Linked DNA regions of Homo sapiens: all the other regions are linked to region 4. Evidence: promoter capture Hi-C in 16 types of primary human blood cells and fetal thymus (Javierre and others, 2016). All regions are on one chromosome and are shown on one strand. The core of a region is centred on a gene start or on the middle of the fragment in contact, and the rest is flanking DNA. Distances in the headings are between cores, read along the strand shown.

The links. Contacts are between HindIII fragments. The CHiCAGO score rates a contact against its expected background, and 5 or more counts as called.
Region 1: a fragment that was not itself captured here is called in contact with the fragment with the promoter of HSPB2 in region 4 in 2 of 17 cell types (naive CD4 T cells and total CD8 T cells); the score reaches 5.1 in naive CD4 T cells.
Region 2: a fragment that was not itself captured here is called in contact with the fragment with the promoter of HSPB2 in region 4 in 2 of 17 cell types (total CD8 T cells and erythroblasts); the score reaches 6.8 in total CD8 T cells.
Region 3: a fragment that was not itself captured here is called in contact with the fragment with the promoter of HSPB2 in region 4 in 1 of 17 cell types (erythroblasts); the score reaches 5.4 in erythroblasts.
Region 5: a contact is called between a fragment that was not itself captured here and the fragment with the promoter of HSPB2 in region 4, in 4 of 17 cell types (total CD8 T cells, naive CD4 T cells, naive CD8 T cells and 1 more). The highest score is 6.1, in total CD8 T cells.
Region 6: a fragment that was not itself captured here is called in contact with the fragment with the promoter of HSPB2 in region 4 in 1 of 17 cell types (neutrophils); the score reaches 5.0 in neutrophils.
Region 7: a contact is called between a fragment that was not itself captured here and the fragment with the promoter of HSPB2 in region 4, in 1 of 17 cell types (neutrophils). The highest score is 6.2, in neutrophils.

What each region holds. Positions count from the first base shown.
Region 1 is chr11:111,536,528-111,540,232 of GRCh38, forward strand. It overlaps HOATZ (HOATZ cilia and flagella associated protein), which reads left to right. Exons shown (of 6, transcript NM_001100388.2): 6 at 243-516. The coding sequence ends at 300. Among named protein-coding and RNA genes, the nearest start is that of LAYN, 2.3 kb to the right of the region's middle. RefSeq lists an enhancer at 3,296-3,705. The HindIII fragment of the contact is 2,351 bases long and covers 1,118-3,468 here.
Region 2 is chr11:111,581,213-111,584,912 of GRCh38, forward strand. No RefSeq gene overlaps it. Among named protein-coding and RNA genes, the nearest start is that of SIK2, 19 kb to the right of the region's middle. The HindIII fragment of the contact is 2,267 bases long and covers 605-2,871 here.
Region 3 is chr11:112,285,411-112,288,964 of GRCh38, forward strand. The region is part of intron 1 of LINC02762 (long intergenic non-protein coding RNA 2762); the gene reads left to right. Among named protein-coding and RNA genes, the nearest start is that of LINC02762, 16 kb to the left of the region's middle. The HindIII fragment of the contact is 2,402 bases long and covers 497-2,898 here.
Region 4 is chr11:111,911,484-111,914,816 of GRCh38, forward strand. It overlaps HSPB2 (heat shock protein family B (small) member 2), which reads left to right and starts at 1,251. Exons shown (of 2, transcript NM_001541.4): 1 at 1,251-1,440; 2 at 1,958-2,610. The coding sequence starts at 1,347. The coding sequence ends at 2,412. It overlaps CRYAB (crystallin alpha B), which reads right to left and starts at 287. Exons shown (of 3, transcript NM_001289808.2): 1 at 41-287. The coding sequence starts at 241. HSPB2-C11orf52 (HSPB2-C11orf52 readthrough (NMD candidate)) reads left to right here and starts at 1,253. Exons shown (of 5, transcript NR_037651.1): 1 at 1,253-1,440. RefSeq lists an enhancer at 2,002-2,655. The HindIII fragment of the contact is 6,880 bases long and covers 330-3,333 here.
Region 5 is chr11:111,557,317-111,560,726 of GRCh38, forward strand. LAYN (layilin) reads left to right here. Exons shown (of 7, transcript NM_178834.5): 6 at 225-327; 7 at 2,779-3,410. The coding sequence ends at 3,142. Among named protein-coding and RNA genes, the nearest start is that of LAYN, 18 kb to the left of the region's middle. The HindIII fragment of the contact is 3,362 bases long and covers 1-3,239 here.
Region 6 is chr11:112,231,531-112,235,012 of GRCh38, forward strand. It overlaps PTS (6-pyruvoyltetrahydropterin synthase), which reads left to right. Exons shown (of 6, transcript NM_000317.3): 5 at 1,633-1,703; 6 at 1,902-2,443. The coding sequence ends at 2,025. Among named protein-coding and RNA genes, the nearest start is that of PTS, 6.8 kb to the left of the region's middle. The HindIII fragment of the contact is 7,627 bases long and covers 1-3,482 here.
Region 7 is chr11:112,303,879-112,307,525 of GRCh38, forward strand. All of the region lies in intron 2 of LINC02762 (long intergenic non-protein coding RNA 2762), which reads left to right. Among named protein-coding and RNA genes, the nearest start is that of LINC02762, 35 kb to the left of the region's middle. The HindIII fragment of the contact is 9,013 bases long and covers 1-3,647 here.

The DNA of each region.
Region 1 (3,705 bases), core at 1,043-3,542, 370 kb before region 4:
TGACTCTAGAATAAACAAAACATATTTGGGGTAGGAGGGCTCCTGTACCTCCAAACCACACTTCACAATATCATAACCACTTCTCTCACATACAAGTTTATACTTGGTTGCAAAACCCAACACATAGAATCTACAACAGTGAATTTTTATTGGGAGAATTTTCAAAAGTTGTTTTCATGCTACATCATGTTCACAATGGCGGAGTTCTGTGTATTGGAACTGACTGATATTACTACCAACAGGAAAGTGGTATCAGAGTCAGATAAAGAGGACCAAGAAGAAGTCAAAACTTTGGACTAATTTGCTTGACACATGGCAGAGGATGGCTCACTTATACCTTCACTTTGGAAACAACCTTCTCTTAGATCAGGATCATTGAGATCACTGGCAACATTATAGTAGACAAAGAAATACAAGTTAAATACGCAGACTTCCAGGAATTTTACCAGTTAGTGAGTACTTGTGTTAAAATAAAGAAATAAAGGTTAAATATGCAGGCTTCTATGAATTCTACCAGCTATTGAATATTTGTGTCTATTTACTTACTGGGTACTACTGTTTGACACCACAACATACATCTCTTTCATCTTACCACATTCTCAAACTCCTATTTATCTTGTTTTCATTTGAAGGGTATTTCCAGAATTTCTATGCTAGATCTATATTATGAATATCAGGTAAGCAAGAAACAGGGGCTTTATGTGTCTTAACTTGTAGACCACCAGTAAAAACAATCAGGAAATAGGAATGAAAGGGCAGTTTTGAAAACTTCAAGTCTACTTGCTTTAATAAGAAAACCACTTAGCAAAATTTGGTTTGTTCCATTTCTGAAACATGTCTGAAGTCAGAAGTGAGTTGCTTCTACCTCTGTGAATAACTGGCTCCACGTGCCTATGTTTTACACACATACATAAACCCAGTGCCAACCCCCCTCACTTTCATTCCCTTTGCTATGTAATGGAAAAGAAAAGATTAAGGATTTGTCCCTTCTGCGCTGTCCAAATGGCAGTCCTACTCAGGGTTAGATGCTCTTCCCCATCCCTCCTTCGAGAGATCTTAGCATAATCCAGGCCCCCTTCTGTCAGAAAGAAAGAACTGGAAAGTGTGTTTATAGTAAAGCTTTAGTAGCAATATGTTTATTATCCACCCAGGAATATTTGCATTTTAAAAGAAGGCTGAATAAAGGGAACAATGGGTAATCCAAGGAAATCAGTTACCAATGATGAAATCTCAGGAGTCTGACTCTTGGGTAAGCAACATGTATTTAGGGTAAGAGGGTTACCCAGAGGTTGCAGCTCTATTTAGGACCACCATTTCCATCACTACTGGCCTCCACTTGGAACTCTTGGACATAGCTTTCATAAGACACAGCCCCCATCCACTGTGCCAACAGAAGACTGGGTGGCCCACTGGTCAGAGCGTAATCACAAGGACACATCAGGCTGCAAGGGAGGCTGGAAATTGTCTTTAGAAAATGGGGAGGGGGCTTCTGTCTAATTAAAATTCAGGGATTCTATAGCCAAAAGAAGTGGAGAATGGATATTAGGGGACAATGACAAGGTTCTGGCACAACGCTATTTGAAGAAAAATGTTCGGAACAAAAGGAAGGTAGTCAGGCCTAGGAAAGGAAAATTTTGAAAGTTATAAATTGGCAGCCCCATCCTAGCACCAGCAAGAATAAAAGGTATCCTGTCTGGTTGATGTATCTGTCTGCCTGGCAGGTAGGTCTTCGTTGTGAAGATGGACACAGCAGGCTATCAAAGCCTAAACTATTAAATCATATAACTAATTCCTTTCATTCTGATTCCATGCTGATAAATCTTTTTTGCCCAGAGGGAGAATATGTGTTCAACAGGCCAATGCAAGCATTAGTTTACCTGACAATTCTATTTCTCAATGTGTAAATATATTAGTCTCTTAGATTGGGTTTGAGCATGTTAAACTAGGAATTGGACCCTGGACCAGGGTAATTTTACCAAGAAAAATTCTACTTTGTGGACTTTCTTGGCAACCAGCCTTCCCCTAGTGATACCTCCCTACATTGCCAAGTGTAATGGTTAGCTATTGCTGCAACAATGCTGCATAACAAAGGGGTCTAAAACAACATTTATTACTGCTCACACATCTGCAGTTTTGTGTGATCTAGTTTGGCTGACCTAGGCTTAGCCAGAGAGCTCTGCTTCAAGCTACAGCACCTAGAGCAGCTCTGTCTCTTACTGCAAGTTTGTCAATTGCCTGAGGTAGCTCTGCTCCATTTGTCATCCTCTTAGGGATACACATAGACCAGTGGGATATCTAAGGTATGTTCCTCTCAGAGAGTGGCAGAGAAGAAAAAGAAATATGAGGCCTTTCTGGTCTAAGCTCAGAACTGACTCATTCTGTTAGCCAAACAAGTCAATCACATGGTCAAACACAAAGTCAAGGTGTGGGGAAATATACTCTGCCTCTTTAGAAAGAGAAACTACAAAGTCATATGGTAAAGGATATGGGTACAGGGAGGTGTGGAGAATTGGGGCCGTTATTGTAATCTACCAGGTTTGGTTGACTGTATACCCTAACAAAATCCATCTGAACCAAGGTCCAGGGTATCAAAGCGAGAAGTCGGGACACGATTTAATTATGTAACAGCTTTTTAAAGTTGTAGCAGATGTTATAATATTAGAAATAAATCCTTTTCAATTGACATTAAGTGCCTAGATATCTGAACATTTACATATATATTTGCCTTATCAAACACTCACTAAACTCTTAAGGCAACTGTTAATGTTACCAACAGTTAAGTGAAACTTAGGCAAACGGAATTGCCAAAGGCCACACAGACATTAAATGAAGAGCAGAATCTGAAACAGACCCTCAAATGCCAACTCCAGTGCTTCTTTTCACCATAACAGTTCTCTCAAGTTGTTTTGATAACCAAGAATTTCTAAGAAGAAAGTGTGTTAGATGTGACATTGACGTATTCTAACTGGGACAGAAGGAAGGTCTATAAATGATCTTGCCATAAAGGTCAGGCCTCATCCTGCCACAACCGCTGTTAGCTGTTACGTGCCGCAGCAGAGCTCCCCCATAGTCTCAGCTGATACTGAAATTCATCCCACTCCCCTCTCACCCCCAGCCTGTATTCAGGCTGTTTGTTTAGAATTGCAGTGGCTAGAGGCCTTAGAAGCATCACTGCTTTCTTGGCTGTTTTGAAAAGCAGAAAGAGTACGTAAGAAGCAGCAAGCTGGAACCAAAATCCAGAGGTCGTGGCCCAGATGGGGCTTCTGCTATGCTTCACAGCAGCATGGTGTGGCAGAAAAGGCAGAAAGTCAGATTCACCTTCTGCTACTTAGTGCCTTAATCTTTGGACAGATGGCTCACTCTATTGCTTGACTATATTTAAAAGCATTTTGTTTACGAAACCAAAGTGAAACACACCTACTTTGGGAGTTTACAAGAGGAAGCACACATTGAGGGCTAGGTTAGGAAAGCTTTTCCTGAGATAATAGTTTCATTCTTTCCTGCGGGGCGAGGGGCCAAAGCTGAACTCCCTAACTATGACCCCCACCTCCCAACCTGTTCCCTGCAAAAAACAGAATCATTTCCTTCCAGGGATCTGGGACATCTTTTGGCTTCTGGTAGAAGCCGCTTTCCTTTCAGTCGGGAGGGCTCCAACTCAGCCAAGTTCTTTGGATGCCATCCGCGCGGTGTCCCATAACTTTCCTG
Region 2 (3,700 bases), core at 488-2,987, 330 kb before region 4:
GGGAGAATGGTATAACCCTGGGTGAGGTGACTCTCTTCATGTTAGGGCAGTGGTTCTCAATCAAGGCACTTTGTCCCCCAGAGACATTTGGCAATGCCTGGAGACATTTTTGGTTGTCACAGCCATGGGTAGGGTGCTACTGGTGTCTAGTGGGTAGAAGCCAGGGATTCTACTAAACATCTTCTAATGCACAGAACAGTCCCCAACAACAAAGAATTATCCAGTCCAAAATGTCAATAGTGCTGAGACTAAGAAACCTTGGTTTAAGACAATGCCCAGAGAGTGATTCAGGGACAGCCAACAGCCACCACTGTTCCCAGCATCCCAGGCCTCAGTTCTGAATGGAGAATCTGGGTGGCAAACCACAGCATCCGCTACATGTCTTGATTACTTTTAGAGAAAACTAGTAAATAGAGATCTCTGTCTGGGAGCTAGGAGTGCTTGTTGCCTGCAGTTTGATCTCTATTTCTAGGCCTATTCAGGGGAGAGAACTAGGAAATTATCTTTTTAATACACATCATTCATTATATCAATATTTCTAATTCAAAATCAGGACTCTGACATAATCCTTCTATTTAGAAGGTATAATCCTTCTATTTTGAGAAGCTTGGAACTTGTTGACCCTAAGAAGTTTCCTGAGAGCCACCTCAGTAAACCATTTTTGAATGTCATTAAGTTTGCATATTAGGGGGTTACAAAAGTAAAGGAAAACTTTGCAGGAAAATGTTCAAAATAATCCAGAATATTGGAATTAGAAGGAACCTAAGAGATCATCTAAACCAAAACTCTGATTTTACAAATGAGGAAAAGGAGGCCTAGAAAAGTTCAGCAGACTTAATCTAAGGTCCATAGCTACTTAGTGCCCTAACCAGGACCAGCATCAGGACACTAACCCCTCATATTTGTTTCTTTTTTCCTGCCTCAGCACTCTGACTCTTCTCTCTAGTATTAACTCTCCCATGCTGCAGAAGAAAATAGAGCAAAGAGGGACAGAAAAGGAGATGAAACTCACTCCTTTTTCACAGTATACCTTGGTGGAACTGAGAACTCAGATCTGTATGCAGAGAACTGAGCACAGATCTGTAGGAAGGAAGTGCTTCTTATCCACTGTTAGTGGAAACATCTGTTTGGTTGTTTTTCCAAAGCACTGTTAGATTGTGCTGTGCCTTCCACATTCTCTCCTGCACTCTTGCTAATGACCAAGCAGTTACACACCAGCAAGGCTGGCCAAGGTTGGGACATCTTAGCAAAGAAAAAGAGCTCAATTAACCAGTCCATGCAGGGATAGAATGATTGATTTGGTCTCATTAGTAGCATACACAAAAACAATCAATTAAGCTGGCAACATGGTGTAATGCCTTTTCAAATGAAGGTAACCCTCTTTTTTTTTTTTTTAGTCAGGGTCTTGCTCTGTTGCTCAGGCTGGAGTGCAGTGACTGGTGTGATCACACCTCACTGCAGCCTCAACCTCAACCTCCTGGGCTCAAAAGATCCTCCTCCCTCAGTCTCCCAAGTAGCTGGGACTACAGGCATGCATCACCACGTCCTGCTAATTTATGCATTTTTTTGTAGAGATGGGGTTTTGCCATGTTGCACAGGCTGGTTTCAAACTCTTGGGATCAAGCCCACCTCAACCTCCCAAAGTGCTGGGATTACAAATAGGTATGAGCCACTGCGCCTGGCCATTAGGAACTGTCTTCTTTCAATTCTTTCCTAGGCATACTAATCTGAACTCTTGTCCTAGTAAGTTGTTTATTATTTCTTCCAGTGCTTCCTAAACTTTTCCACTGAAGTACTGACAGAGAAGAATGAAAGCTACACAACACACACACACACACACACACATGCACACACACACGCACACACACACACACACACACCCCGGTGTGTACTCAAAGCCCTGGGAAAGTGACCCAAAGCAAAATTATTGGGAAATGCAAAATTTTTCCAAAGTCCTGTGTTTATCTTAAATATTCGTTCAAGTCCCACAACCTACTCTGTTTTTCTTAAAGAAACAGAAGTTTAAAAGGGCAATTGATATTCCAGAACATGCAGTATGTTTAACAAGGGCTTTGAGAAATCCCTTCCCCTCCCAAATCATGATATACCTCTTATAACCCCATTTAAGAAACCCAGATTGAGAAATCACTTATATAATAGATTTCTATTGCTCTGAGGTAGAATTCATACTCTTAAAAGTAGTTTGCCTTTTTAAAAGAAATCTGCATTCTATCTACTTATGAAGCATCTATTTTTTTTTTTGTTCTCATTTTAGCAAAATCACTAGTTGTTTCGGTTTTTTTTTTTAAGAGATAGTGTCTTACTTTGTCACCCATGCTGGAGTGCAGTGGTGCAATCACAGCTCACTGTAGCCTTGAACTCCTGGGCTCGAGCAATCCTCTCACCTCAGCCTCCTGAGTAGCTAGGACCACAGGTTTGTGCCACTACACCCAGCTATTTTTAAATTTTTTTGTAGAAATCGGGTCTTGCTATGTTACCCAGGCTGGTCTTGAATTCCTGGCCTCAAGCAATCCTCCCAACTCAGCCTCCCAAAGTGCTGGGATTACAGATGTGAGCCACCATGCCTGGCCCAGTTAAGTTGTAATAATCAAGATTTTCAAATAATTTGTGTTTTATCAACAGTAGTGATAAAAAAGATTAAAATTAAAATATACATCTATTCAAGCTGTATAAATTTTTATATTTTTATCAAAAGTATAATATAAATACAAAAAATTTTAATATGAAATTGTTTTTCATATATTGTTAAAAAGTTATCTTTTCTAAAATATTCAAAACCATCTATTAAAATTAAAAGGCAAAATATACATTAAAATTTGTAATTTTAAAATGGGGATACCACAGACTGCAAGCTTTTATTTTTATTTATTTATTATTATTTATTAATAATAAATGTTTATTAATATTTATTTATTTAAAAGGCTGGAGTGCAGTGGCACAATCTCGGCTCACTGCAGCCTCCGCCTCCTGGGTTCAAGCAATTCTCCTGCCTCAGCCTCCCGAGTGGCTAGGATTACAGGCACATGCTGCCATGCCCAGCTAATTTTTCCATTTTTAGTAGAGACAGGGTTTCACCATGTTGGCCAGGCTCGTCTTGAACTCCTGACCTCAGGTGATCTGACTGCCTCAGCCTCCCAAAGTGCTGGGATTGCAGGCATGAGCCACCGCACCAGGCCCAACATGCAAGTCTTTATGGCATTCAGATGCAGCCACCTGCTGTTTTGAGGACATAAGGCAAGAGATATGGAGAATGGTTTCCTGGGGCCTAACCAGTGTTAGTGGTAAGAGTGGACATTTAGGCTTATGGCCATGCTGTGTCAGTGCTGAATGCCAAACTGAGAGAGGGGTCATGTGCTCTTTAATAATGTGTGTGTGGGTGGGGGTGTTGTGGGTGGTTTGTGATATGCAGGGCCTTCTAAACCCGGGCAGTTTTCACTTGTCCCAGTCTGAGGACAGTCTGAAGTCTTCAGAATATGAATGCATCATGGAAAAGGGAAAGTGGTTTGACACCCCAGCCCCACCCCTTACCGCTCCAGAGAGCATACAGAGTTTACAAGATATTACCTGCCTACCCAGTGAAGTTAGTATATAAAGCAGATATGATTATTACTACTTTACAAATAAGGAAACTGTATTAGTCCATTTCATACTGCTATTAGAACTGCCCGAGACTAATTTA
Region 3 (3,554 bases), core at 448-2,947, 370 kb after region 4:
TTTTTGAGACAGAGTCTTGCTCTATCGCCAGGCTGGGGTGCAGTGGCGCGATCTCAGTTCACTGCAAGCTCTGCTTCCCGGGTTCAAGGGATTCTCCTGGCTCAGCCTCCCAAGTAGCTGGGATTAAAGGCATGTGCCACCACGCCTAGCTAATTTTTGTATATTTAGTAGAGACGGGGTTTCACTGTGTTGGCCAGGATGGTCTCAATCTCTTGACCTCGTGATCTGCCCACCTCCCAAAGTGCTGGGATTACAGGCGTGAGCCACCATGCTCAGCCTGTTCTCTGTCTCTTGTATCTCCCCATGACCTTCAGTGTTCAGACACTGGGTCACCTCTCATTTCCTAAATGTCTGTTCTCTTTCTTGCCTCTCCAAGTTCAGCTGCAGAGCAGCTGCATTCCTCAGTAGGCAGTGGGAGAGACTCTGTCTTTCTCCTGCGCTGCAGCCCGTCTCATCACAGGCTTCAGGTGGTCCCTTTGGGCTCCCACAGCAGTCAAGCTTCCTGCGCATGATTAAAGGGATGCTGGTGCTTCTGAAATAAAGCACCAGGGGCAGAGGCTGATGGCTCAAGCCCAATCCCCAGGTCTCCCAGAGCTGGCTTCCCTGGTAGGCAATCACAGACTTTGCAGGGAGGAGCCATCTCCTTTGTTCTTATGTGTTGCTTCTTTCTTGCTACCCAGGCTCATGTTAATTGCTTTTCTGACATTTTTTCTGGCAAGTGATTTTTGCTGCTGCTTGTGGAGGTGACATGGCAAGCCCACAAGGGAGCGATAACAATGACCTAATGCAGAGCCGAGGAGGCTGGGGCTCCTATACGGGGTAGAAGATAATGAAGTTGAGTCATGAACAATTTGTTCTAAATGGTCAGTGAGATAGGCTCAGAGCCTTCAGAAATGAGAGTAGCCTGTGGCCAAGGCTTTCCTGAGAAGTTGTTCCCTCGGCCTTTGTAGTTCTGGCAGACCACCCTTCCTGGTGCAGGGACCTCAGGATGTGGGAACCTGTGCACAGGGCTAGATGATTCCTAAGGTCTTCCAAGAGCTTGTGAATGTCGGCAGCACAGAGACTAGAACTATGATGATCCTATCTTCCCAGCTACCTGTCAGAACACGTAGTCTGGTAATCCAGCAACTCCATTAGCCCAGATATTTATTCCACTTACTCTGTGCCAGGCATGGTGTTAGCTGGAGACATGACAGTAAATGGGTCACAGTTCCTACCTCAGTTCAGCTCACAGCCCGGATGGGAGACAGACCCACACTTAGATAATTATAATGCAGCAGGGCGAGTACCAGGATCCAGTGATGTATGGGGGTTATTCTGAGCACAGAGGAGAGGTCTCAGGGGCCAGGACAGGCTTCCTGGAGGCAGCACCAACACTACTGAGTCTTGAATAAGCAGAAGTTATAGCTGGGCCAGGCCAAGGGGAGTATAGGGGTGAGGAGGGAAGAGCTGATTTCTTCTCCTGCCTGAACCACCTGTTTAAAAGCAACATGGGGAAACAAAGCCATATGAAGAGGGGAAGTTGACAAGCACAAGTCCCTTGACTCTACAGAACAAATTTTAATCTCCCTTTCTTTGTACGAGGGTCTCCAACTCAGTGTCCAGCCACCCAAGCTCTAGCCTGTGGGGACCCTTCATAACTCCTCCCAGGGGGTCAAGGCAACCCAGCATTTCCTGGGGGATGCAGATGAGTGTGGCCTAATAATTCTTGCTCCAATCAGCGACTGTCTAAAATGTGGGCAACCTGAGCACCCAGTGCCATCCAGAGCTCAGGGTAGGTGCTCATCATGTCCTTGATTGCAGCTGCATGTGTGTTTGCCTCTTACCTGTCATGATGATCAACAGGAGCTCGGCAGTTGTAATCAGCAACGAGAGTTACACATGTCATTAGGTTTACAGAGTAACATGGGCCAGGCCAGAAGATATGTCTGCAAGAGGTCTCCTTGGTATGGCCAGCTATGGCCAGAGGAATAATAAAGGCAAGGCCTTCCCAGGTGGGCACCTCTGCTATTTTCTACTGGAGGCAGGGGCTGAGTCCTCGAGTGGGGAAATGCCGATGTGGCCAGTTTCTCTAAGGACTCTGGGGCTCTGTTGGCCCCTTGGCTACATTTCTTGACTTTGCCATTGTTATTATTAGCTTTTCTAGGTGGATAATGGGATAATGGGAGGCAATGTGGTTAACATTTTTTTTAAAAAAAATAAATGTTGGCCGGGTGCGGTAGCTCATGCCTGTAATCCCAGCACTTTGGGAGGCCAAGGCCAGTGGATTACCTGAGGTCAGGAGTTTGAGACTAGCCTGGCCAGCATGATGAAACCCTGTATCTACTAAAAATACAAAAATTAGCCAATGTAGTGGCTCATGCCTGTAGTCCCAGCCACTTGGGAGGCTGAGGCAGGAGAATCGCTTGAACCCAGGAGGTGGAGGTTGCAGTGAGCCGAGGTTGTGCCACTGCACTTCAGCCTGGGTGACAAGGGTGAAACTCCGTCTTAAAAAAAAATGTATTGTGTGTATCGAAGGTATCCAACATGATGTTAATGTGATTTTATGAAAAGCAGCCTTTGCAGTCAAGTAGACATGAACTTGAATCTTAGCTCTGCCACTTCAGCTGTGCAGCTTTGAACACTTAACTTCTTTCAATGTGAGTTTCTCATCTATTAAATGGGGTTAATCATGTCTATTTGTATCTATTTCCAAAGAGTGTTGTGAAGATCCAAGGGGATAGCACGTGTAAAGCACATTCTTCTTACCTTTTATCTCCCTGAGCTGAGTGTAGAGGCTGCAGTCATTCATTGAACAATTGTTTATTGTCTACTTATTGCTAACCATTGTTGCGGGTTCTGCGGAAACAGTAATGAACAAAAGTCTCTGTTCTCATCAAGTTCACATTCTGGTGGGGAAGCTTGAAAATAAGTAAGTAAACTAAGCAGGATAACTTCAGATAGTGATAAAAGCTATACAGAAAAGGAAACAGGCCCATAGGATAGAAGTGATTTGGTGGGAGGCCTGAAGAGGCTTTAGGGAGCACAGTGGTCTTTGAACCAAGACCTGGAGGCCAAGAAGGAGCTGGGCCTGCGGAGACCTGAGGAAGAGCATTCCAGGCAGAGAGAAGAGCAAGGGCACAAAGTGCTGAGGTGGGAAAGCATTTGGCAAGAAAGAAGATGCTTGCAGGAGGAGCACTGTGAACCCTGGGGAGTGTGGGATGAGGAGAGGAGCAGGAGTGAGTTCCATGCATGTTCCCAAACTCTGTGCTGAGGTGTTCTTGGAGCTGCTGTGGATTCAGAGGGGCTCTTTGAGATATTTTAAAGGCCAAAGGCAACACTCAACTTTTGTTGGGCTCCATGCAAACTACTAAGTAGTGCAGGATAGCTTGAAGACTCAATATTAGATTGCCCTACAGTTTTTTTTTTTTTTCCTTGAGATGGTGTCTCACTCTGTTGCCCAGGCTGGAGTGCAGTGGTGTGATCTTGGCTCACTGCAACCTCCGCCTCCCAGGTTTAAGAGATTCTCCTGCCTCAGCCTCCTGAGTAGCTGAGAATACAGGCACATGCCACCA
Region 4 (3,333 bases), core at 1-2,500:
CCAGTAAGGACTCTCCCGTCCTAGCTGTGGGGAGACTCACCTCTGAGAGTCCAGTGTCAAACCAGCTGGGTGCCCGCAGGAAGGAGGGTGGCCGAAGGTAGAAGGGACTCAGGGAAGTAGACGTCGGGAAAAGATCAGACTCCAACAGGTGCTCTCCGAAGAACTGGTCAAAGAGGCGGCTGGGGGAGTGGAAAGGAAAGAAGGGGCGGCGGATCCAGGGGTGGTGGATGGCGATGTCCATGGTGGCTAGGTGAGTGTGAGGGGTCAGCTGGCTGGTCAGCTCCTTCAGCTGCAGCTACAGCCAGCCCCTTATATATGCAGTCTTGTGAAGCTTCTGGAATGGTGATGTCAGGGGTTTTATTATCCTAGCTCACCAGCAGTTCATGGAGACTTGTGATCCGGGATTTGGCAATGTGACACATACCCAGTACTCACTGAGCTAAGAAAAGAGAGACACAAACACGTCTGAGCCGGCCAGTGACTTGTCATGGTCTTGTTTCACTAGCTTTCTGTCCACACCCAATGGCACCCACCCCCACCCCTGTTCTCTGAAGCTGGTACAGAGTCAGGAATCCCAAGCAGGCACGCGGGGTGGGGGGAGGATGGGAGCCGGCGTAGTGTGCCCCTCCTCCTCCTTTCCAGTCCTGAATGCCAGGGGAATCAGGCCAGCAACTATCTTGGGCCTGGGCAGGGACTGGAATCTTCCTAGGCTGAGCCCCAGGGACATTAACTCTTTGTGAGTCCTTGGAAGAGAGCAGTGATGGTCAACATGTCAGCACCAGCCATCTGCCTCGTGCCCTGGGTTGACCTGGGTTTAGGAGAGGATCCCACATCTGGGCAGAAAGACCCCACCCCCTGAAAAAAGAGCAAACAGATTTCTTGCATCTTTCGTTCTATGTGGCTCTCAGAACATTAAATCCAGGAGTGCTTTAGGAATTGGGTGCACAGTGCCTGCCACCGAAGAGGAGAAAATGAGGTGTGGAAACGTGCAAACCGTTTGTGAGGGTCTCAGCGAGGCCTCTTCATGCCCCAGGCACCACCAGCTCCCCCTCCCCAGCTCGTTCCCAGCCAGGACCCTCAGCTGTCCTCTCAGGCCCCCTGCGACAGCTGAAGAGTGTGCGGGGGAGGGGACTAGGGGTCCGGGCGGCGCTGGTCACACCCTCGTTGCTCTCACTCAGGGCCCCCACTCCCAGCCCCTCCCCCCCCAAGAGGCTCGGCACTATTTTGGGTGGTGTCGACCCCGCCCCCACCTCCTATCGAGCCCTGGCTCTCCGGGCAGCTGGAGGGGTCGCGCTGCGCCTGTTGGGGCTGCACCTCGGACCAGGGCTTCTGCTGCATCTGCAGCCATGTCGGGCCGCTCAGTGCCACATGCCCACCCGGCCACCGCCGAGTACGAATTTGCCAACCCGAGCCGCCTGGGTGAGCAGCGCTTCGGAGAAGGTATGGCACAGACACCACCCCCTTGCCCCCCACCCCCACCCCCTGAAATTCTGGGCTGACCTCCCAACGTTGCTGGCCTCCACCCCACTCTGGGCTTAACTGATCTCCTGGGACCAGCCACCCCCCACCCCAGACTACCCCTCATCCCCTCCAAGCAGAGATCTTTCCCATTCCTGCTGACCTCAAGACACACTTGGTGCTTGCAGTGCTGATACCTGCTCTTTGCCGGCCTGGGTGTGCCTCCTTGTCCCCCTTCTATCCACCCAGGCCGTTTGGTGCCTCCTCCTCCTCCCCCTCCTCCTCCTTCTCCTCCTCCTCCTCCCTTTCCTTTCCGTTCTCTTTCCCCTCTTCCGAGCTGCCTTCTCCTCCTAGCTACAGTGTGGCCTCCCTCCCGTTCCCTACTCCTCCTGACTCCCCTCTTGCTCTTCCCAATCCCTCCTCTCCAGATTTCCCATTTCGCCCCTGTGCCAGCCTCATCCTCCCTCATCCTGCCTCTTGCCTTCTCTCTGCCCTTTAGGCCTCCTGCCAGAAGAGATCCTGACCCCCACACTCTACCATGGCTACTATGTCCGGCCTCGGGCCGCCCCAGCTGGGGAGGGCAGCAGGGCAGGGGCCTCCGAGCTTAGGCTCAGTGAGGGCAAGTTCCAGGCATTTCTGGATGTGAGCCACTTTACCCCAGACGAGGTGACTGTGAGGACTGTGGATAACCTGCTGGAGGTGTCTGCCCGGCACCCCCAGCGCCTGGACCGCCACGGCTTCGTGTCCCGAGAGTTCTGCCGCACCTATGTCCTGCCTGCTGATGTCGACCCCTGGCGAGTCCGAGCTGCTCTCTCCCATGATGGCATCTTAAACCTGGAAGCACCTCGGGGTGGCCGACATTTGGACACAGAGGTCAATGAGGTCTACATCTCCCTGCTCCCTGCGCCTCCTGATCCAGAGGAAGAGGAGGAGGCAGCCATAGTTGAGCCCTGATTGCCACAGACCCAGCACCCAGCAAATCCCTCTCTACCTCCCAAGGTGATATGGGCAGCTGCCCACCACTCCAGAGGTAGCAGCATCCTTGGGGGAAGGGAAAGGTGCATGGTCCACAATGTATGGTTTGGTCCCATGGGACATGTCATAGCCTTGGTTTAGTTTTGGGTGGAGCTGAATAAACCCAAATCTCAGGGCCTTGTTTGTACTGCTCCCTATTCTGTGGCCGGGAAGCTGGGATGGGGAGGGAGGGAGGAGGTCACAGCCAGCTAGACAAAAAGCTCCTCAGTTTGATGTGCCCAACGTCATAGGACCCTGAGCTCGCACTTGGATGCTGAGATCACACCCGGAAGCTGACTCTGGCTCCAGATCAAATTCCTAGCCATAATTTTCTCACAATGCAACAAAAGAGAGAGTGATCCTGGGAGGGAAAAGGGATATGCCATCCAAACAGCCCAGAGGGCACTGTCTGAGCTGGTGATTAGAGACACAAAAACAAGGGTCTCCAGACTGTCTGGCCCTTTTTGGGTAGGGGCTGGGAAAATGGTTTTTGGCTGGTGAGAGTTGCCTAAAGTCCTGGAGTGAATACTTTGTTTTCATGTACTAAGGTCTGTCCACTTAAATGGTCACTGATTTTGAGAGCCTGAGTATGCATACACAGGGCACAGACACAAAGCCTCTCCAATTATCACGGAACCCCATTACCTTCCCATCCTCTGGGGGTACGGTGTATTCAGGAAAGCCTGAGGTCTGTCCCCTCAGTTATTCTCTGCAATCAAGAGAACATCCAGCTACATGATTTGGGGGAAGTGTCCAAAAGACCTTCCTGCCTCCAAATACATATTTCATTAGGCTGTGGTAGATACCTACAATTCTTCCATTAAAGCAGTTGTTTCTTGGCTGGGTGCAGCAGCTCACACC
Region 5 (3,410 bases), core at 309-2,808, 350 kb before region 4:
TTGCTAACTGGCTAGATGTGTCTTGATCACTCAGGAATGAGCTCTTTGGAATACTCTGTGTTGATTAGCCTTTTCCTTTGTTTTGTTTTTTAATTTTTTAATTTTAATAGATTTGGGGGTACAAGTGGTTTTTGACGATTATGCTTTTTTTAAGCCTGGTTTGAAGCACAGAAAAACAAAACAAAAAACAGCCAATGCTGATCATGTGCTTTCTTTCTTTTCAGAAGCTGCCTTGAATCTGGCCTACATCCTAATCCCCAGCATTCCCCTTCTCCTCCTCCTTGTGGTCACCACAGTTGTATGTTGGGTTTGGATCTGTAGAAAAAGGCAAGTAAAACCTTCATTGTGTAAACCTTTGCATCTTCTGCTCTCTTTGAGATTTGGATATTGCCTTGTTTACTTCATTAAAACCCACGGCAGCACCAAGAGTATCACCATTGCAGATTGGAGAGTGGGTTCTCTGACAGGTCAGGGCATTCAGAAGTACTAGGCATTTGTGCTTAGTTGTGATTAAGAGAGTGATCTTACTTGCTTTACTGTCTGTACGTGGAAGATTTTAAAACAACTTGAAGGGTGAAATTGCATTATTCACCTCCCGTGCACTCACACGTCACCCAGCAAAAATGCTCTCATGAATGTATGCCCTCACTCTGAAAATGTTTGTGGACTGAGTGAAGGAATGAATAGTGAGCCATATGAAAAATGACTGCTGCAAAGTATTCTGGTAAACATCTGAAACTAAACCACTTAATTCAAACTGAAAGAGCCAAATTCCTTTTAACTGACTTTTCTTTTAATTCAGTACACAAGTATAGAGTGCTATAAAATAGCTACACTAGGTGGCATCAACAATTTCTGTATATGGTCAGGATCGTGTGCCACTATTTTATTTTATTTTATTTTATTTTTAGTACTGAAAGCTCTTCTCAGTTACCTTTTTATTCTCCATCATCATGGTATATGGAGAAGATGTCTAGTATTCCCATTTACAACAGGAAAACTAAGGCCCAATTTAAGATTTGACTCCCTTTAAAGACCAATTTGAGATGAATTAGTAAGATTCCAATGTAAAATCTATTTCAGTTAATTGTAACTTCCTTGTAGGATTATTATAAGGATTAAGGCAGTTAATACTTGCAGAATAAGTATATACTAAGCACTTGAATGTTACCTATTATTGGGATTATTTTATTAGTTATTTCCTTTGAATCTTAAAGTAGAATTTAGTTCAAAAAATTACAGGCATATTTTCCAGCTGCCTACTCTGCCTACTCAGTTGGTTCTTGATTTCCTTTCCTGACTCTCTGTTTTGTACTTTAACAGGATTTGGGAATTGTGACTCTAAAGCTGGGGTGTCTGTCTATCCCAAGGGTTTTTAATCTTTTTTGTGCCCTGCAGCAGTCTGGTGAGGCCTATGGACTCCTTCCAGAACAATATTTTATTTTATTTATTATTTTATTTAAAAAAATATATATATATATATATATTTGAGACAGAGTCTTTCTCTGTCGCCCAGGCTGGAGTGCAATGGCGCAATCTCGGCTCACTGCAACCTCCGCCTCCCGGGTTCAAGTGATTCTCGTGCCTCAGCCTCCCAAGTAGCCGGGATTACAGGCACATACCACCATGCCTGGCTAATTTTGTATTTTTAGTAGAGATGGGTTTCACCATGTTGGCCAGGCTGGTCTCGAACTCCTGACCTCAGGTGATCCGCCCACCTCAGCTGCCCTAAGTGCTAGGATTACAGGCATGAGCCACCACACCCGGCCCAGTACAATATTTTAAATGCATAAAATAAAATACATTGGGTTGCAAAGGAAGCAATCATACTGTTATATAGTTTAGCAAAATATTTCCAAAAATGAATATGTGATTAGTAATACATGTACTCCTTTATTAATGCTTCTTTATTTAGTGCTGGGTATAATTATTATAATTTTGAAGTAGAGATGAGGTTAAAATATTTCAAGGCATCTATAACTGTGATATGAAAACATCTATAATTTCTAGTAGTGATCAAGTCAAAGATATTAATCCTGCTGTTTTATCTCTTACATTCATAATGGAAGGACATGCTAAATTTCACTTATGGATGAGTCGTGTTTTTTGTTGTTTTGGTTTTATTTTATTTTATTTTATTATTTTATTTTATTTTATTTTATTTTTGAGACAGGGTCTCACTCTGTCGCCCAAGCTGGAGTGCAGCGGTACCATCACAGCTCACTGCGGCCTTGACCTCCCAGGTTATCCTCCCACCTCAGCCTCCCAACTAGCTGGGACTGCAGGTGTGCACCACCATGCCTGGTTAATTTTTGTATCTTTTATAGGGACGGGGTTTTAACATGTTGCCCAGGCTGGTCTCAAACTCCTGGGCTCAAGTGATCCACCTGCCTCAGCCTCCCAAAGTGTTAGGATTACAGGCGTGGGCCACTGTGCACAGCTGAGGTGTTTTTTTGTTTTTTTGGGTTTTTTTTGTAATGTGGTATTTTTTCTCTATTCAGTTCTATCCCTGGACACTCCAGGGACTCTAGGGAACCCCAGGATAATAACCCTGCCCACACTTGGGCAGCAGTGAATGACAGATACACAATCACTTTGAACATAACATCTCCCTGTTTGGTTCCCTCCCACTCCGAAGCCCTGGCCTGTAAGTTACATAGACGAGACATGCAGCTGGGTGACTGCCCAGGGCTGCTTCCTCTCGTCTCAACAGGAAGCACAAGGGTATTCTCAATCACCTGGTCTAAAACACTCAGCCCTGGTTTTCTTTCTTCCTAGAAAACGGGAGCAGCCAGACCCTAGCACAAAGAAGCAACACACCATCTGGCCCTCTCCTCACCAGGGAAACAGCCCGGACCTAGAGGTCTACAATGTCATAAGAAAACAAAGCGAAGCTGACTTAGCTGAGACCCGGCCAGACCTGAAGAATATTTCATTCCGAGTGTGTTCGGGAGAAGCCACTCCCGATGACATGTCTTGTGACTATGACAACATGGCTGTGAACCCATCAGAAAGTGGGTTTGTGACTCTGGTGAGCGTGGAGAGTGGATTTGTGACCAATGACATTTATGAGTTCTCCCCAGACCAAATGGGGAGGAGTAAGGAGTCTGGATGGGTGGAAAATGAAATATATGGTTATTAGGACATATAAAAAACTGAAACTGACAACAATGGAAAAGAAATGATAAGCAAAATCCTCTTATTTTCTATAAGGAAAATACACAGAAGGTCTATGAACAAGCTTAGATCAGGTCCTGTGGATGAGCATGTGGTCCCCACGACCTCCTGTTGGACCCCCACGTTTTGGCTGTATCCTTTATCCCAGCCAGTCATCCAGCTCGACCTTATGAGAAGGTACCTTGCCCAGGTCTGGCACATAGTAGAGTCTCAATAAATGTCACTTGGTTGGT
Region 6 (3,482 bases), core at 104-2,603, 320 kb after region 4:
CAGCTTAGGTTTGTTCTGAGATTTGACATTTGCTTGATTAAAATGATGTTATTAGTAATGATTACTTCTTTCACATTACTTATTCATATATTCAACAAATTTCTCTACTTCGCATCAGTTTTTGAGCTAAGTGTACAAAGATGAATGAGATGTAGCCCACAGAGTGTATACATTACTTTTTCTAGGAGGTGAAGAATATTATTAAATAACTGTTGATTTAATAAATGAGTAGAAGAATGAGTGAATGAAGAAACAGCACTATGCTCAAAATACTTTAGGAAAGTTATACAGATAGGGCCAGCATGCATTTATGGGGCAGGGGTTGGGGGGCAGGCGGAGAGAGAGAGAGAGGGAGACAGAGACAGGAGAAGAGGAGGGGGAGGGGAGGACAGGGGAGGAGAGGGGAGGGGAAAGAAAGAAAAAGAAAAAGAGAAAAGAAAAGAAAAGAAAGAAAAGAGACAAGACAGCAACATAAAAGGCCTCAACATATGACTAAATACTGGAGGAGGGCTTCTCTATGCTGTTTTCTGCTTTTGTATGCCTGAAGGACACCACACACTTTCATCAGTAAAAGTGGCTTATCATGGCATGTAGAGTAAAGTTAGAGCTCTACCGTGGGGGGAGGATTGCTTGAGTCCAGGAGTTCAAGGCTGCAGTGAGCTATGATTATGCCACTTGCACTCCAGCCTGGATGACAGAGACCCTGTCTCTAAAAACAAAACAAAAGAAAACAAAAAGCCCTGCATAAGAGGCTTTAATGGAGAAATTGGGACTGGAACTGGGATTGAAGATGAAGCAAGGATGCCCGTTTTCTTGTTATTCATGTGGAACATCCCTTCATTGGATATATTTCAATAACTGTTTGATCTAGGACTTACTCTTTTTGTATGATTCTAGTTTTTCTCAAGAAATGATTGCTGTTACTGTTATTAATGTACCCTTCTTCAAACTACGTCCTATGGAAAATTACATTTTTTTTTCACAGATGCTTAGATTTTTTGCAATAGCTAAAAGCAAAAACCTAGAAAGAATGAGGCAATTTAATCCTTGCTGATGATGAGGAAAAACATTATGTTAATATACACGAGCATTAGGGAGTAATAGTCTTTACATATATATATTTTTCCTTCTATGAGCCCAAGATCATTCTTAAATTATTCCTCATAGCAAAAATTTAGAACTACTTACATAATTTCAGTCTAGGTCTGCTTTATAAAATGTAGTAGTCACTGGATCTTTGTCCTTATGATATTGTGGCATTGTTCCGTAGGTGTGACAGTGTTATGGAAAAATATTTGTGCTAACTGTTTGGACAGGATTCACAAAGTGTTAAACTGAATTCTGAATTACAATGGCTTGTGTTGCGAGAAAGCTCCAGGAATTCTCTGCTTTTTGGTTTCTCACCTCTTTTTATTCAGTAACAAGGATTCCTAATCATTACCGACAGCTGGGCCTGACTTTATTTTACAACTTGAAATTTTGTAAAGTTGCCTTGTAAGACTCAAATCTAGTACTTACAAATATTTAGTTAGTGGCTAAGTGATAAGGTGAGGTTTAGAGGCATAAGTGGAACAATTTGGAATTTGAGTCGTAAATGGAGTCAATGATATTTTCCCTTGGTTTTGTCTCTAGGAGGCGATTATGCAGCCCCTTGATCATAAGAATCTGGATATGGATGTGCCATACTTTGCAGATGTGGTGAGGTGGGTGGCACTGTATCTTGCCTTATGTGGATTGTAAAACAAGAATTGATTTGAATACTTTGATTGTTGTGTGATTTCTGAAGTTTTAATTTAATGAAATCTTTCGAAACTAGAATTTCTATTTTCTGTAAATATTAAACATGAAATTTTATTGTTTGCATTTTGAATTTTTTTTGTTTTTGTTTTTTTTTCTTATAGCACGACTGAAAATGTAGCTGTTTATATCTGGGACAACCTCCAGAAAGTTCTTCCTGTAGGAGTTCTTTATAAAGTAAAAGTATACGAAACTGACAATAATATTGTGGTTTATAAAGGAGAATAGCTATTGGGGTTAGCATTGCACAAAGCCCAGTTTCTTTCTGTGTTTGAAAAAGATTTTGATCCCCTTGGAATATTAAGAGGTCAACACGTGATTGTTGTACGTACACATTGTGCTCTGGAGTGCCTATTTATTGAAATCATTGTAAGACCTGTTATAAATTTAAGTCTATTTAAAACTAAACTTGTAATATACATCCTGAAAATCATTTAGAGAGTCTTTTATTTATAAATTAAAAATCACTTCATTTTCACAAAATGTTTTGGTGTGGGATTATTTGAAAGCAAAAGAAATCTAATTTTGTTTTCTCCATTACCTCATTTTAGTATTAATTTTTACTTGGTATAATATACATGGTTAAAATGCTTATGTGACTTCGAGTAGGTGAATCTTAAAGAAATAAAATTCAAGTGACCACAAAGTCTGGAGACAATATATATATGTATATTTAATAGATTGAACTCTCTTGATTACTACTTGTTGGGTGTGCTGAAGGCATAAGTGGATTCAGTGAAAATTAGACACACAAATCATGTGAGGCATCTGTTGTGGATACACGTACAAATATTGATGGAAATGCTGCTTTAGAGCACATCATTCATTACAATTTTGCACAGCGTATTGAACTATGAATTGCTAGTGAGGAACAACACATTAAACATATCATGGAATATCAGTAAATTATTCAGTATACTCCTCTGAATTTCTGAACCTGATGGGCACTTGAATAATTTCAACTCAGAAGACTGCAGAATAATCATATTTTAAACTCTAAAAAATAGTCAGCATAAAAAGGATCAACTACCATATAAAATATTTCCTGTATATAGTTTTTCCTAATTGATCCCATTTTGTTCTGATTATTAAACTTACTATATGCTTGGCATTCTTCTCTGGGATCTTTTCCTCGTGACTAAATCCACAAGAAAGTATTTGCTTACTTTGCACGGAAGACTGTTCTGTGTTCTTGTTTGTTTTCTAAATGTCTTAAACGCAGGGTTCTGATTTTCTCTCCACATAGCAACTAGTATACAATGAATTCCCAGAATGTTGTTGCCTGAAAATAGTAAAAGGACTTTTGCAGTGATTACTATTCTAGAAAAACTTGCAAAGAATAGTCTTTTCTAGTGATTGCAGAAATATAAAGTTTGACAGTAATGCAAATGGCCACTGAATTATATTTGAATGTATTTTAGTTATCAAACAATTTGTTCTCTATGTAGAATGTTTTGTATTGATTACTTGAAAGGCAGATAGCTGTTATTTATTAAGACACTTTATGTTTTAATTCACACAAATACCCTGCAAGGTAGGTATTCTCATTCTTTAGGTAAGATAATTAAAGTTGAGAGAGTTTAAACTATTTGCTTTAGATCATTCAGCAAATAAATTGCAAACTGGATGTTTAACATTCAGGGTCTTTCTGACTCCAAAACACAGACTCTGAAAAGGGACAATTT
Region 7 (3,647 bases), core at 418-2,917, 390 kb after region 4:
TCTGGATATATTAAAAAAAAAAAAACCTAGACATGATTCTTACCCTTGGGGCACTCCTGGTTTAGTGGGGGGATGAGTTTTTAAGTAGATAATCATAATGCAATAATAAGATAACATTCCCTAAGTACCATGTATCCTTTCAAAATCGCTCTACTCATTTGACGCTCATGATCACCCTAAGAAGCAGGTGCTGTTTTATATAGTTTGCTGCAGATGAGGCACAGAGAGGTTAAATAATTTACCTAAGGTCATACAGCTGATAAGTGGCAGAGCTGAGATTTGAACCCAGATGAGCTGGCTCCAGACGTCAGGCTTATGACTGGCGTGCTTTACTGCCTTGAAGTGGGTCAAGCATGGTAGTGGGTACCCCAAGTGTTACAGGCATATGGGGCAGGGCCTGGTGGAGGTGTTGGGGTGGTTGAGGGAGTTCTGGGTCTGGTGATGTGTAGGAGGTAGCTTGGTGGGGGCCTGGGCAGCTGAAGTTTCCTTCCCTCCCTTCTTTGTTTTTCCTGCCTTCAATATTTCCTGAGCATGTGTTATGTGCTGGGCAGGCTGCTAGGTACTGGGGACCAAGGATGGGCTTAATGTAGCCTGGGAGAGCCTTGTACATACCCTACTTGCCAGAGCCACGTGGTCGGTGTTCTACTAGCAGCATGGACATGAGTGGCTGCGGGAGCAGTGTGGAGGACTTCCTGGAAGAGGTGAGGAGCCCATCCTGTGGGAAGAAGGGGAAAGTTGTACTTGGTATGGCTGCTCCAAGATGCTTAAGTATAGATTTTTTATTTTTATTTTTTTGAGATGGAGTCTTGCTCTGTCACCCAGGTTGGAGTGCAGTGGCGTGATCTCGGCTCACTGCAACCTCCGCCTCCTGGTTTAAGCAATTCTCCCTGCCTCAGCCTCCCAAGTAGTTGGGATTACAGCTGCCTGCCACCACGCCCAGTTAATTTTTTGTATTTTTAGTAGAGATGGGGTTTTGCCACATTGGCCAGGCTGGTCTCAAACTCCTGACCTCAGGTGATCTGCCCATCTCAGCCTCCCAAACTGCTGGAATTACAGGCATGAGCCACCGTGCCCAGTCAAGTATAGATATTTAATCAAGTCAGTTGAGCTCTGAGTTCTTGTTAGTCAAGGTTGGTGAGAAGTCTAAAAACCAGTCATTACTTGGGGCACCCCCCTGACAAGGTTTTCCAGGAACCCCATAACAGATGTGGGTCTCAGTCTGTGGGTTCCACTCTGCAGGGATCTGAGACTGCTCTTGAAAGCTGCTCTTCCACCATCTGTCTAGCACTGTGGCACCTCCTGAACCCATCTTGCCTCACAGCCATGTCCAGACCAGCCTGGTCTCTTGGACAGCTTTGGGGGTGGCACCAGTCTCACCACACCTCTCTGTAGCTCCCAAGGCTTGGTGACTTCATTTCACTCAGCCCCATGCAGCCAGCAGCCTGTATAATCTGAGCCCTCACCGACAGGCTGCCCTGGAGCCCACCCTCCTTTCTCCTCATTTGAACTGAAATATAGAACCGTATTGACCACCCTCTGGTGACTGGGGAGCCTAGACCTTAGGAACAGTTCTTAATTCTTATGAGCGGGAAACATTCCTTTCCAGGGACTCTGGAGAAACAAGATATGAAGTAATTTCCCAGTAACTGTAACAAGAGCATTCCAGACAGAGCAGGCAGCGTGTGCGTCCCTGTGCTGGGTCTGTTGGGAGTCCTTGCGCAGGGGTATAGGCTGTCACTGGGGGATCAAGGGGAGAGGGTGGTTGGGGAAGCTGGTGGAGGCCTTGAAGGCCCAGCTGGTGGGAAAAAACCCAGCATTTACCCGAAGCAGGGCACTGATGTGACCAGATCTGGAGCTTAGGCAGATTGGGGTAACTCTGAGTGCATGTGTGTGTGTGTGTGCACGTGCGTGTGTGCACGCTCACGTATGTGCACGGCCATGTAACAAAACTCAACTGAGAATGACCTAACCTACTGTATGATTTCCTCCAGGGTGGGCCCTGGGATTGGTGTTGTCCTGGTCCCTTCTGGAGTGATGTGCTGTGTGGGACTACACAGCCCGCGGGCCTGCAGCAAGGTGCTTGTCCCGCTTCACCTTGGCTTTTATTCCAGGCAAAGCCGAGAGCAGGGTGGAGAGATGATAGCCCATGTCCCAAGGGATAGGTGAGCAGCAAAGACCAGTCAGAGCAGTGACAACGTTAATTTTGTATTTTCATCCTTGGGAAACCAAAAAGGATGGACCTTAGAAGACTCTTCTGTCCCGGCTCCTTAGCAGAAGTGAGGGAGAGATGAGACCAGAGATTTTTCATTTCCCCACCATCTCAGCCAGATCCAGTTGCTGAGCTGGATCTGGAGCTTCCTCTCTGCACCAAGAAGATGCCCAACTCCCCCTAGTCCTCAAATGACTGCAAAGTCAGGGGGACTGCAAGTGACTCCAGAGCTGGGTAATGAGATCAGAGGAAAAAGTGCCCAGCTGTGACATTAAGTGGGATTTATTTTCATCATCTCAGGTTCCCTATTGTATGGCATACTCCTTCACCACCTGCACATACAGCCATATTTTAGGATACAACTGCGAGGGTTTCAGGGCTCTCTGAGAAATAATGGCTCTGTGCTGTCACTGCATAGCTGTGCCCTTTCAAATATACAAAACAGGAAGGTGACCTGCTGATTCAGTGGAAGGCAATAAGCCACACATTCAATTAGAATGACATACATTTAATCACAATTGTCTAATGGTATTTGAGATTTCTTATTTAATCAGTAATGAGGCTATCCAGCAATTAATGTTGCTGGAATCGTGGCTGCCCTTACCAGCGCAGTGTTGATTTTAAACTAATCTTTCTATTTTATATTCTCTTTCTATTTCTGGAGTTAATAAAGGTGCTGTAATGAGTTGTATTAAAACATCAATTTCTTCTTTTGTTGCACCCACAAGTTTATCATGGTTTTTAATCAAAATACTGAGGTACTGTAGGAAAGGGTTTTCCACGTCAGGTTTTGCCTGGATGGAGAAGCCAAGGTGGGAGATGGTGCGTCTCACTTGTTTCTGACTCTCCCAGCTGTTTGGGCCCCCTCTGGAGAAGTTTGAGGACAGGGACAGCTTCATAGGTGACCTGTGAGGTTGATCAAGGCCCTGTGCTTAGAAGGGCCCTCAGCTTGGTTTGATGTTCTGCTATTGCTGTTTTGAAAGTCTGAATACCTTTTGAACAAGGGGCCCCTACATTTTCATTTTGCACTAAGCCCTCCAAATTGTGTGGCCAATGCTGTTTGAGGATCTGTGAGAATGGGTGTGTGTTGATGGTCAGAGGGCAGTGCACGAGAGGCTGCCCCCAGTGCCTCACCTTGAGTTGGTGCTATGGGACCCCAGGCTGCACAGGGCAACGTGTGGCGGGCAGAAGAGGCTGATAGGGACAGGTGAGATGAGATCTGTTTCTGGGTTTCCCACATGGCTTTTTCTGTCCCAAAAACTCTCTTTTTCTTGCAGTCCTACAGCTTAGGGTGTAGAAATATCAAACAAAAATAGATGTGAATGAAAGGGCATTTATAAAAATTCTTTTTTTGGTAGGGGAATTATGTTTTTCTCTGACATCTGTTTTTAAATAGTTATAACAATGGGTAACATTTATTGAGTACCTACCATGGCCT